Regions from separate parts of the Homo sapiens genome. Here region 2 is linked to region 1. Evidence: promoter capture Hi-C in 16 types of primary human blood cells and fetal thymus (Javierre and others, 2016). All regions are on one chromosome and are shown on one strand. Each heading gives the region's core, a stretch centred on a gene start or on the middle of the fragment in contact. The rest is flanking DNA. Distances are from core to core; before and after follow the strand shown. Region 1 holds the start of ANKRD44 (ankyrin repeat domain 44). Region 2 has its middle 48 kb from the start of ANKRD44-DT.

Region 1 (6,600 bases), core at 2,208-4,707:
TCCTCCCAGTTTGCCTGGAATTTTCCCGGTTTTAGCCCCATATGCTGGGACACCAGTCAATCTGCACAAACCAGGATGGTTAGTGCCCCCTAAGGCTGCAATAAAAATTATGTGTGCCCTGTGAAGAGGAAAACAGAAGGGACACTGTTACAAAAGTTACAAATGCAGAAGTGCTAAATGCCAAGTTTGTTTGTTTGTAGTGATAGCTCCCAGTTCCTTTTTTACAGTGAAAAAAAAAAAAAAAAGACTAAAAATTACACTGGTCTCTCCCTTTTTCTTTTTACTCTCCTGAAAAAAAAAGAGTTAGGAAAAAACATTTTCCTTCTCTTACAAGATTGAGAGGTCACTACAGGACTGACTGCTGAAGTAGTGTCTGCTTCACCTAGCAAGCTCCTGCACCCAGCTTTAGCTGGAGAGAAAATGTCATCATCTGTCACCCCTGACTTTTGCCACATTTAAAGACAAATCCAGACAATTTGTGTTTCAGGTTATCAACAGTAAAAAATCCAAGAGGCCTAGCAAAAATCAAGATTCACTTCACAAATAGGGCATTCAACAGATGAGGTGCCAGGCACAGTGGCTCATGCCTGTAATCCCAGCACTTTGGGAGGCTGAGGCAGGTGGACTGTTTGAGCCCAAGAGTTTGAGACCAGCCTGGGCAACATGGCGAAACTCTGTGTCTACAAAAAATACAAAAATTAGCCAGGTGTGGTGGCACACGCGCCCATAGTCCCAGCTACTGGGGAGGCTGAAGTGGGAGGATGTTTGAGCCTGGCAGGCCAAGGCTGTAGTGAGCCATGATCATACTATCGAGTCAGAGTGAGACCCTGACACACACACACACACACACAAAAAAAAAAAAGGAGGGAGAAATTAAGAAGTGGTTGTTTTACTAGAAGCTGAATGGAGAGCAAGGTACTCCTGTACAAACTCTAAGGCAGGGATTCCAAGCAGGCGGGCGGCTCCCTGCCCACAATGATGGAGCAAAACTCTTCTAGTAGTGGTCTAAGCAAATGGTTTTAAAAGTTAATCTGTGAGGTTAAGAACTGACTTCTAAGAATTGAGTCTCAAACAGAAAAGGTAAGACTATATAAGGCAAGAAAGACCACACACTTACTTCCTGGACCTAAAGCTACACAGAAACCATCGTTGTTCACCACCCCACCCCACCCAGGCCACTTCCCCACCCCATCTCCTTCTGACTTTGTCCCAAGATAGACTGGACATTTTCAGAAGTTCTTGAATCTTAAAACGCCTTAGGTTCTTTTTACGTATCTGGAGATGGAACCAAATAAACGTTGTGTGACTCTTCCTTTCTCTCCATACTCATACTAGTTTATTGGGGGAAGGAAGGAAATATACTTGGAAACATCTTAAAAGGCAACATCTTTGAAATTCCTGCTCTGATAAGCCCTGAAGAATAACTTCCTCTCTTTGTAAGACCAAGTAATACACTTCTCACTAGGGTTGATCTTGATCTAGGAAGAGATGTTTTCTTGTAACCCTTACAACACATCCAATGAGATGATGGAGCTATCCTATACCAACTGTAGCAGAAAGTACAAGCACCTGGAAGGCAGAAGACAAGAGCTAGTCCCAGTCCTGCAGGCCTATAGCTGGCATTCTTTGAGGAAGACTTGCTTCACTTCTCCAGATCTGTTTTGTCATTTAGAAAATGAAGGGTTTGGGCTAGATCATCCTTAGAGTCCTTACAACTCTAAACTTCTATGTGATGTTCTTTCTTATATGTGATAACAATACCTATTAGAACCATTCTTTGTACTTTGAAGATCTAGGGATTAACAGACAAGTACAGCAACGTGTACTAGCAAAGATGACAGGCCCAAGACACGCTAAAACTGTAGGATTTAAAATACGCAAATGTCTAACAGTTGGCAAAGTATGTGACCAAAAGGTGAAGGAAATCCTGATATCAACTTACACTTTTAAATGCTCTGGAACCAATGAGAACAAATACATTCATCACAAGTACCAGCTGCTCTTCTTACTAAATTTAACAATAACATGAATTTTAACTCAGTGATTTCCCCATCACCAACCCCGCCAAACACCTGTAAATATTTAGGAAAAACAAGCTAAAAAAATTGAATCTAAAAGGCAGGAGAACAAATCATTGCAAATCATTGTGGTGACGGACTGCACTTCAGTTGCAAGATGTTCTGGCTGGATACTAACTGGAGAACGCAAGGCAGCAGATGCAACCCATGGACAAGTTTGAGGTATTTAATACCAAGGGCTGGCAAGTCTGACCCTGTAGTCAAAGTCAAGATTGCCTCTCTGCCTACCAGGACCCCAAAACAAAGTTCCTTTCACTACCCACGAATAAACGGGGGTGGGGGTAGCAAGCCGTTTCCTTTTTTCGTGGAAAGAGCTGCAAAGAGTTTTGTCATGCAACTTGGTTTGGTGCCTGTTAGTGTCAATGTAAGAGCAGCAGAGTCCGCGAAGGTGGCTGTTACCATTCCACAGACCTGCGGCGAGGACTGTCAATCCGATTCAGCAAATAACCCCACCTCTCCAAGCCAGGACTCCAGAGCTGCCCTGTGTGGTGTCTCAGCAAGGAAAGCCAACAAAGCTGGTAGACACAGGCAGACCGTAGCCCACCGCCTGTGAGTGGAGGCTCCGAGCCGACTTCACCTCCTCCTCAGAGGGACCGGCCCGATCCGAAAGGGCGGTCTCCAGGGGTCCCCATCCCGCACCACGCACACAGCCTGGCGCAACTAAAGAGGAAGTCGGATGTCACATCCAACGGATAAATAAAGACAGCCCGGCCACACAAGAGCCGCATTCTGGGCAGGACTCCTGCTAGGTTTGGGGAGGGGTCCCAGTCTGCGATCCTTTCTCCCTCTTCGTGCAGCGTCCTCCTCCCCGGGGCCCGGGCCGGCGGCGCCCACGCAACGCGGCGCGGTGCGAGTCCCGAGAGCACCTCGAGCCCCCGGCCCCCTCCCCAGCCCCGCCGGGCCCGCGGCCGCCGCACTCCCGCACGCCGGCTGCCCAGCGCCCACGGGCCCTGCCCCAGACTCGGGCGCGCAGTTCCGACGGCCCAGGGCGGGGACGGCGCGGCGGAGGGGAGCTGCCGCCGCGGGCTCTCGGAGGCACCGGCGGCCGCACACAGTCCTCCCCTTCGCCGCGAGTAAACAGCTCGCGGGCGCGCTCCAGCCGCGCCCCCATCCCCCCGCCGGGCTCCGCGCCGCCCCGCGCCCGCGCGTCCCGCCCGCCGGCGCCGCCGCCCGCTACCTGGTCGGTGAGTTTGAGCACTGCCATTCTTCCGCTCCTTCGCGCGCACACACATGCAGGTCCCCGGCCCGCAGATGTCACGCCGGGAGCCGGGGAAGCGGAAGGGATTGCCAGGAGAAGGGAAAAAATCTGGCTCCCGAATTTGACAGCCCTCCCCCTGCTCCTCCTCCGCCGCCGCCTCCTCCCGCCGAGAGGCTGACACTGGCTAGTGGGGTTTGCAGCCGAGCCCGCCCGCCTTTCCACAGGAAGTACCGGCTGCTGCCAGCCGGGCCGCCACTGACATCACCGCGCGCTGGCTCGCTCGCCGCCCGCCGCCTGGGCCGACGCTGCCTCCTGCCGCCCGCAGCCGAGCCGCGCAGCCCGGCCCCCGGCGCTGCCCCCGCGCCCGCACCGGGCCGCCGCCTGCCTTCCGCACCTGCACGCGGCGCCCGGCCGGGCCGGCCCCGGGCCCTGGGCGGATCGCGGGCCTCCCTGACGGGTCTCACACATATGGGTGGGGAAGCCCGCGGGGACACACCCCGAGGGGGCAGGAAAGGCTCTCACTCACATGCCGTCCACTTTAACCGGGGAGATGGGGTTACGCCCCCTTCCCCTAACCCAGAATCAGGTGGTGGCAGCGCCCCGAAGATCCCAGGGACCGCAATTATGATGCTCCCTTTGTTTAATGCCAGGAGGCAGCGGACACATTGTGATTCTTTACAGGGTGTTTGCCAAACATTTATGGGTGGAGGGAACAGAAGCTCTGGCCCTTCCACCTTGTTCTCCAGCCACTTTCCAGCTAAACACACACACACATATGCACACACACATACTATTGTTAAATTCAAACACCCTGGGTTTGGTTTTTGCTGGTGGGGGTGGAGTGGAGTTCCTGGAGAAGCAAAGCAGTCCTAAATCACCGAGTTGATGGGTCTTTTGGGTGTTCCCACCAGTCCTTACTGATCTCTACAAAATCCCAAGTTACCAAGCTCTTCAACAAATAGAAGACAGCTGTCAAACACCATGGGCTACAGATACAACGGGCATATTCGTAAGCATAGTAGCTGTTGATAGTTCTGGAATTTGGAGCAAACACTTATTCATTGAACAGCTATGTACTGAGTCCCTACCTTGTCAGGCACTGGCTAGGCACGGGAATAAACGGAGAGCATAAATAAGATAACCTGCTCTCAGAAGATGCCAACATAAACCGCATAGTCTCTGCTAATGAATGTAATTACAAACTGAGATAAGGGATCTCAAGGGAAAACATGCTTCTGAAGTGAACCCACAACAAAGGAATCAGACCAGACTGGTGGGTGAGGGCAGGCTTCCCTGAGAAAGTGACAGGAGTTGAGATCTGGAGAAGGGAGAATTAAGTAAGCAAGTGGAGAGGAAGTGCTCCCAGGCAGCCCCATGTGCCCCTGGCAGGCCATAGAGCAAACCTGTAGGGCAGCATTGAACAGCTTTGAAGAGCAAACTAGAGCTACAGAATTCTTTGGTCAAGACCAAACATCTGCCTCTACTGTATATTCACAAACCAAATGTCCATTCTTCCTCCCTACTCTTAGAACCTCCCCCAAAGATTCCACATGAGACAGGAGAGAAAGGAGCATTAATATCCTCACATTTACCATCCAGCCACTCTGGTTGTCGAAGCAGCTAAATCTCAAATTTACCTTTATTAGTCTTATAGATTATAATTCAGATCATGCAGACAAGAAGAACCAAGGAACTTTGTTCCTGGCTTCCACTCCTCTGTTATCAATGTTGCATGGAAACAAACAAACAAAAAATTCTAAGGCCTTTCTCAGACATACAACAGATTGTTTATGTTGCATCTATGAGTCAGTTCTTCACTGCTGTTATTGGTATGTCTATTTACTGAACACCCTGCATGGCTTTGTAAGTAAACTGAATAGGACCCTGCATTCTCTACTTAAATAGAGCCATCTTTCAGAAGAGTGATAACAAATGACTTAATTTGGAAGATTCACTCAAGATCCAATTTGATTCATCGCGGACATGCCTGCACCTAAGTTCCTGGGGCCAAAGTGAGGAGGCAGCAGTTCTCCACCCAATCAGACCATCATCCTCTTTTTGTAACTAGTATCTTTAACACTCCCCTTACTATCCTGAAAGGTAATTTGTGGATAATATTACCTACCAATACAAATTTCAAAAAAAAAAAAACCAGCAACAATATATTGTCCTAATTGTACAATAAAGGAAAAATTAAAGGAGAGTAATTTATAATGAATATGTATTTCAGTAGGTAAGTGGTAAAACACAACTCTCTTTGTCTTCTGACAAAACAAAGCAGTAAGATGCTTCCACCTATATGGAGAGGCTTTGTGAATGAGAGAATTACAAATGCAGACAGATGTGAACATATAGTGTTAGGAATTCAAATATCAAGATTGGTGTTGTCATAGGTGACCTGACTTTGTGAAAGGTTGAACAACTCGTGGCCAAGTTCCAAATAAAATAGGGAGCAGAAGATTTGGCAAAATTTATTGATAAGACTACACTTATCAGAAGGTCTGCTTTTAATGTGTTAGCCAGTACTTTGACAGTGATTCAAACACTTTGTTTACTTCATTAAATGAGACTCAGACTCAGCAGTTGACTATATTCGGTGAGCTTGAGAAGCCAGAATGCCCCTGGTATAATGTAGAGAAAGAAATCCAAAGATTTGTGGAGATGGGAATGTTGGAATAATTTTATCATGTATAATCTGTACAGCCAACCCCTACATATTCCTGGAGAGCCAGATGATGATCTTTATACTGAAGCATTGAAAAATACAGGCCAGGCACCATGGCTTATGCCTATAATCCCAGCACTTTGGGAGGCTGAAGCAGGTGGATCACCTGAGGTCAGGAGTTCCAGACCAGCCTGGCTAACATGGTGAAACCCCGTCTCTACTAAAAATACAAAAAATTAGCCAGGCGTGGTGGCATGCACCTGTAGTTCCAGCTACTTGGGAGGCTGAGTCACGAGAGTCGCTTGAACCCAGGAGGCAGAGGTTGCACTGAGCCAATGACGCGCCATTGCACTCCAGCCTGGGCAACAAAGCAAGACTCTGTCAAAAAGAAAAAAAAAGAAAAGGAAAGAAAAATACATTCGAGAGAGAACGTCAGAAAAACTCTCTAGTAGCTGGATATGATGGTGGGAGATGCTTTCGTTGAGATGGCTCCTTGATTTTTATATTAGTGGGATCCTGCGACAGCAATGGCCAAGTGGCAGCACTTAGCTGGCAGAGACAAGGTGGACACATTTACTGTAATGGACAGCAGAGACAAAGTAGTACTTAAAGGTCTTAACCTACAGGTATATCTGGCAGTGCCCTAGGTTGTCCTAGGA
Region 2 (6,600 bases), core at 2,211-4,710, 48 kb after region 1:
CCCAGCTACTCGGGAGGCTGAGACAGGAGAATCACTTGAATCCGAGAGGCGGAGGTTTCATTGAGATGAGATCATACCACAGCACTCCAGTCTGGGTGATGGAGCGAGACTCCATCTCAAAACAAAACGAAAAAAAGTCTAAAATCAGCTGTCTCTTAAATTTAGCCTATTTCCCCAGAAAAAGTTTCTGTGGGCAACACCACAGCAGTACAAACCTGGAGTGTTTTTTTTTCAGTGAATATTCTTTCTGGATACATTAGTTTGTTTTCACACTGCTATAAAGAAATACCCAAGACTGGGTAATTTATGAAGGAAAGAGGTTTAATTGACTCACAGTTCCACGTGGCTCAGGAAACTTACAATCATGGCAGAAAGTGAAGGGGAAGCCGGCACATCTTGCATGGCAGCAGGCGAGAGAGAGCGAGAGCAGAGAAAGCTCCCTTTTAAAACCATCAGATCTCACGAGAACAGATCTCACTATCACAAGAACAGCATGGAGGAAACCACCCCCAAGATCCAATCACCCACCACTAGGTCTCTCCCTCAGTACCTGGGGATTAAATTCAAGTTGAGATTTGAGCAGGGAGGGCACAAAGACTAGCCATTTCCTTTTTTCCCTCTAGTGGTACAAGCAAGTAAGGATCAAATTCTAAGATGAAGACAGAATTCTGATGCGGCTCTTCTACAATGCCTTGCCTGAGTCAGAGATGTTCATTGCCCCCTCCCCAAGAAATAAATGAAAGTTTCTAGGGAACCCCAGATAAGAGATGAAGGGATTTGGTTTCTGTGCGGAAAGAAAAGTGTGAGGGTCTTGAGGATTCTGAGTATTGTAAGGAAGAATAATTTAAATATAAATGAGATTTGAATTTATCACACAAAATGGAGGGAATTTTCCTCCTTGAAACCAGATTTGTTCTGTATCTTAACTCAGAAATATATCAGCCCCAGAGCAAAGGGCATGGCAGCACAAGAAACAGAACTGGGTTTCGAGGCACATTTCCCCAGCCGACTCTTTGACCTTGAGTAAGTCTCTTCCTTTCTCTGGATGGCCAGATGACCTTTCAGCACTCTTCCCATTTCAACACTGTATGATTCCAATCAAAATTTTTATAAAAAGAAAACAGAAGGAAAATCCAGACTTTACTAATCCCAAATGCAGAGCTGAGGGACACCACCTCTAGAATAATCTAGATTTGAGTCTGAAGAGTGACAAGAATGAAAACAGGATTCCTAGTGGCAGTTTCAGAGAGCCTCCAGCCCAGCAACTGATGTTGAATATGGCAGAGATTATCACTAGGACCAGGAGTCCACAGGGGTCTCACTTGGGGTCCAGAGGGGATAGGATTTAATAAGAGCTAAAGGTCCTAGAACTTTTTTACTTTTTTTTTTTTTTTTTTTTTTTTTTTTTTTTTTTTTGACACAGAGTCTCACTCTGTTGCCCAGGCTGGAGTGCAATGGAGTGATCTCGGCTCACTGCAATCTCTGCCTCCTGGGTTCAAGCGATTCTCCTGCCTCAGCATCCCAAGTAGCTGGGATTACAGGTGCACGCCACCACACCCAGCTAATTTTGTATTTTTAGTAGAGACAGGGTTTCACCATGTTGGCCAGGCTGGTCTCGAACCCCTGACCTCAGGCGATCTACCTGCCTCAGCCTCCCAAAATGCTGGGATTACAGGAGTGAGCCCCTGCACCCAGCCGGTCCTAGAACTTGAAGGTGAAAGTCGAATTACTCAGTCAAACTGTAACAGAGACTCAGAATTAGAAGACTTCCCCAAGGACTGGAAGTGATGAAGGTAAGTGCTTCAATCAACATAGTTAGTGGGACTGAGCATGGTGGCTCACGCCTGTAATCCCAACACTTTGGGAGGCCGAGACAGGAGGATCACTTGAGCTCAGGAGTTCAAGACCAGCCTGGGTAATATAGTGAGACTCCATCTCTACAAAATATATATTTTTTAATTAGCCAGCCATGGTGGCACATGCCTGTAGTCCCAGCTACTTGAAAGGCTGAGGTGGGAGGATCGCTTTCGCCTAGGATGTCGAGGCTGCCGTGAGCTGTGATCAAGCTACCGCCCTCCAACCTGGGAAACAGAGCAAGACTCTGTCTCAAAAACAAACAAACAAACATCATCAATGGGCATTACTGTGCTATTCATAACGCTGCCTTATTCACCAGTTTCTTCATTGTCTTGGGTCAGGTTTCTCAGAAGCTGATAGATGAGAACATGTGTGCAAGTGATTTGTTAAGAAAGGGCTCCCAGGAGAAAGCAGTAAGAGAGTTGGGGAAGCAGAATAGGGAAAGGGAGGAAGCCAGAAGGCAGGCTGAAGTCCTAGCCTCAGCCTGATCCAGGAGGGTCAGTTACACCACACAATTTGTCCTGCCTCAAGGCAGAAGAGCTCGGCTTTCCTGCTCCTTCACTCCTCAGCTATCACCTTGGGCTGCCCTGAAGGCATGAAAACTCCTGAGTAGTTTTCACTCTTGAGAACATCCAGGGTAAGCTGCTTCTGTAGCCCAAGGGCAGTTCTCTGAAGAAGGTTATAGGTTTCAGCTATTAGGATAGGAGGTAAGCCCATGGAAGCTGCAGATGAGAACACAGAACTGCTCAGTATTTCCACAGGGACAAGGTGAGACACCAATACCAACAGTGTCCATAAATATTTGACTTTTCTCCCTACATGAATTATCAACTTGTTATGGGACGAAGCATGGGTTTCAGATTCAGACAGACCTGGAATTGGGTTCCAGCTCCACCGATTACAAGGCCTGCGACTTTAAACAAAATGATTAACTACACTGAGTCTCAGTTTTTGCATCTGCAAAATTCAGTTGATTCACCTCAAATAAACAAAGTGCATTTAACTCCATTCTAAAACACACTCTTTTCAAATTTAAAAATCTTCCAAATCAGGATACATCTCGTAATCATTGTTGGCCAGGCAGTAATCACAAGCTTGTCTCTGCCTGTGCTCAAAAGAACTTGGTTGCAGCTGCTGACAATATTGTCACAATTGAGTTATATGCACTGTTGATAATATAGGTGTTTCAATCCCTGTTTTAAATGTCTTCAAAATGATTACACTAGCATTCAATGTCAATAGGAAAAGTTTCCATAGAGATAGCACAGCAGAGAATGAAAACAACAGTCGAATGTGGATTTGGTGTGAGAGACATAAAAATTCTTAGAAGGAATGACCACATTTACCTACGTTTAGCAAAGCAATAAAATCAAACACAGCCTTTCTAGAACCTAAGAAAGGAAGATACCCACAAGAAGATGAATCTGTGTTGCATTTTGCTACTGAGAAGTGTGCACAAGGATTGCCCATCCTGGCAACTGAAGGCAGAGGAAATTGCTGAGCCCTTCAGAATAGATGAAAGGAATTTCAAAGCAACAAGATGCTGGTGTGAGTGATTCATATAAGACACATCACTATCATTGTGTCGTGGTTTCAGTAGTAGTATTTTCATTCCTGGTCCATAAAATAATGGTGCATCTGGCAGTCAATTATGTCTTAGATCAAATGAAATTCCCCCAAATTGCAAATGCCCCAAGATTTAGCTATACCCTGGAGCTGACAGTACTGAGCTGGATGTGAGAAAGTGAGGCCCCCCAGGAATGATGAGGCAACATAGAAAGGCCAGGCTTCTCTTGTGGGATTCTGGGTGGCACCAAAAAGTGAACATGGGATCAACTTATAACTGGTATGGCAGGAAACCTTTAACATATGAAATACAGTAGCTAGAGATGAAAAATAACAAAGCTGTCACTTGGAGAAGTGATCTCTCCTCTGCCCTAGGCTCACTAGAGACCTTCTCTACTCGGGGGGTGTGCTAGTCCATTTTGCATTGCTATGAAGAAATACCTGAGGCAGAGTAATTCATAAAGAAAAGATGTTTATTTGGCTCATGTTTCTGCAGGCTGTACAAGCATGGCACCAACATCTGCTCAGCTTCTTGTGAGGCCTCAGGAAGCTTCTACTCATGGTGGAAGGCAAAGGGAGAGTGAGTCCCATGTCAAGAGAGGGAACAAGAGAGGGAGGAGGGAGGTCCCAGACTCTTTTTAATAATCAGATCCTGCATGAACTCATTACAGGGCACTAAGCCATTCATGAGAGATCAGTACCCATGACCCAAACACCTCCCAGCAGGCCCCACTTCCAATATTGGGGATCACGTTTCAACATAATTGGAGGGGAGGAACATCTAAACCATACCATGGGGGATATGCAGAAACTTAATGACCCTCACATTAGGGAAACAGCAGGCCCCAGAAGGGCCCCTAGGGGCCCCTGCTGGGCCAGGTGTGGCCCTCTAGTGGCTGTGAGAGGCTGTCCAGGGATCCCAGAGGAGGGCAGCAGAAGAGAGGCTAAGGGCAGCAGCCAGGCACCAGTTAGTGTGGAAATATTCTAATATTTAGAAAATCACTGTGGTCACATTGGTGTTTACTGGTCAAATATCAGCCCTGCTGTCCTGTATACTGTGAAAGTGAAAAGCCAAATTGTGGAAGTCTGGGCACAGTGGCTCACATCTGTAATCCCGGCACTTTGGGAGGCGGAGGCAGGTGGATCACTTCAGGTCAGGAGTTCGAGACCAGCCTGGACAACATAGTGAAACCCTGTCTCTACAAAAAAAATACAAAAATTGGCCAGGTGTGGTGGCAGGCACCAGCTATCCCAGCTACTCGGGAGGATAAAGCAAGAAAATCCCTTGAGCCCAGGAGGCAGAGGTTGCAGTGAGCTGAGATTGCATCACTGCACCCCAGCCTGGGTGACAGAGTGAGACCCTGCCTCCAAAAAAAAAAAGCCAGGCTGTGGAGTCAGACACAGGCCTGAATCCCTACCGGATGACCTTAACTCAGTCATTTAACTTCTTATAGTCTCATTTGTTTTTTTCATTTTTGTAATGGGGAAAATATTTGATTCTACAGGTTTCTTAGAATTAAATGAGGTAAGATAGGTATAATACTTCAGCATGGGGCCCAGCACATAGAAAGTACTCCACAAACCAAAGCTGCTAGCACTTCTCATGCACAAGGAGCCAGGTAATTTGTCCAGTCATTAGTGGATGACTCACTTTGGACTGTCTATGTTGAAGATGTGGGGTTAGGGTTTGACTGTTGATAGCCATTAAAAGACAACCACAATGAGAACATCTGGTTTCCATTGAAATTCTAGTCTGTCTCTGTGTTATTTGAGTCAGCTTAGGATTTCTTCCCCCTACCTCCAAAACAACTGAAAGCTTTGTACTACATTTACCATTGCTAAGTGGGTTGAAATTGTTCTTTATTAAAAAACAGGCCCCAGGGCAGTATGAGAGACAGCTATCTATTTTGGCAAGTTGTCTCTCCATTAAGTACCTATTACACAGTCAACTCACCATGGTAAAGCAGTTGAGACATTTCTCACTGACCTTTCTAGCCCCAATTATTTAATGCTTAGCAAATCCTGTATGGATAATATCATCAAAATTTGCAGTTAATGGGTGAATTTAGCACTGTCTGTGCCTTTAAAATATGCTTTCTCATCCTAATTAATGCTTATTTTGTACTTTTTTCACATTATACATACTATTACAGTTAATACGCTTGTAGTTACATCTTTGTGCCTTTGTCTAATTATTTTCTTAGAAATTCTTAGAAACAGAGTGCCTAGAAAAAGTGGCATACAGATATTTTTAATGAACATATATTGCCCTCCAGAAAGTTTTTACCAATTTATAATTTTAGCAATAGTGTATGAAGGTATATTTCCCCATACCCTCAACATTTAAATCTTTACTAATCTGGTAGGCAAAAATGTGAACTTACTGCTTATTGCTTCAATTTGCATTTCTTCAGTTACTTATTAAGCATCTTCATGTTTGCTTATAAAATGGATTTCTTACTCTGAAATTTCTCTTTGAAACTTTTGCTGATTTTTCCAGACTGCTGATATTTTTACTCAGTTATAAGCATTCTTTAAAATGTACATAATAAATTTAAATACAGGCCAGGCATAGTGGCTCATACCTATAATCCCAGTGCCTTGGGAGGCCAACTCAGGAGGATCACTTGAGCCCAGGAGTTCAAGGCTGCAATGAGCTATGCTCCTGCCACTGCACTCCATCCTGGGCAACAGAACTGTCTCTAAAAATAAAATAAAATAATATAAATATAAACACAAATGAAGAACTCATAGAATCATGACTTTGTCAAAATCTAATTACTTCCCAAAGGCCCTGCTATGGTCTGATTGTGTCCCGCCAAAATTCAAATGTTGAAATTTAATTGCAATGTGATAGTGTTAAGAGGTGGAGGTGATTACATCATGAAGGTAGAGGCCTCATAAGTGAGAATAATGACCTTATCAAAGAGGTGCAGATCTTGCTCTGTCACCCAGGCTGGAGTGCAGTGGTGCCTTCATGGCTCACTGCAGCCTCAACCTCCCAGGCTCAAGTGATTCTCCCACCTCAGCCTCCCAAGTAGCTGAGACTACAGGCTTGCACCACCATTCCCAGCCAATTTTTTGTATTTTTTGTAAAGATGGGGTTTGACCATGTTGCCCAGGTTGGTCTCGAACTCCTGGGTTCAAGATATCTGCCAGACTCAGCCTCCCAAAGGG

The links. Contacts are between HindIII fragments. The CHiCAGO score rates a contact against its expected background, and 5 or more counts as called.
Region 2: a fragment that was not itself captured here is called in contact with the fragment with the promoter of ANKRD44 in region 1 in 2 of 17 cell types (activated CD4 T cells and naive CD8 T cells); the score reaches 6.6 in activated CD4 T cells.

The regions. Positions count from the first base shown.
Region 1 is chr2:197,307,323-197,313,922 of GRCh38, forward strand. ANKRD44 (ankyrin repeat domain 44) reads right to left here and starts at 3,458. Exons shown (of 28, transcript NM_001195144.2): 1 at 3,256-3,458. The coding sequence starts at 3,282. ANKRD44-DT (ANKRD44 divergent transcript) reads left to right here and starts at 3,744. Exons shown (of 4, transcript XR_923750.3): 1 at 3,744-5,376. RefSeq lists enhancers at 68-117, 158-237, 818-867, 1,798-1,857, 2,309-2,810 and silencers at 2,934-3,313, 3,364-3,683, 3,694-3,773. The HindIII fragment of the contact is 14,364 bases long and covers 1-6,600 here.
Region 2 is chr2:197,355,760-197,362,359 of GRCh38, forward strand. No RefSeq gene overlaps it. Among named protein-coding and RNA genes, the nearest start is that of ANKRD44-DT, 48 kb to the left of the region's middle. The HindIII fragment of the contact is 1,022 bases long and covers 2,950-3,971 here.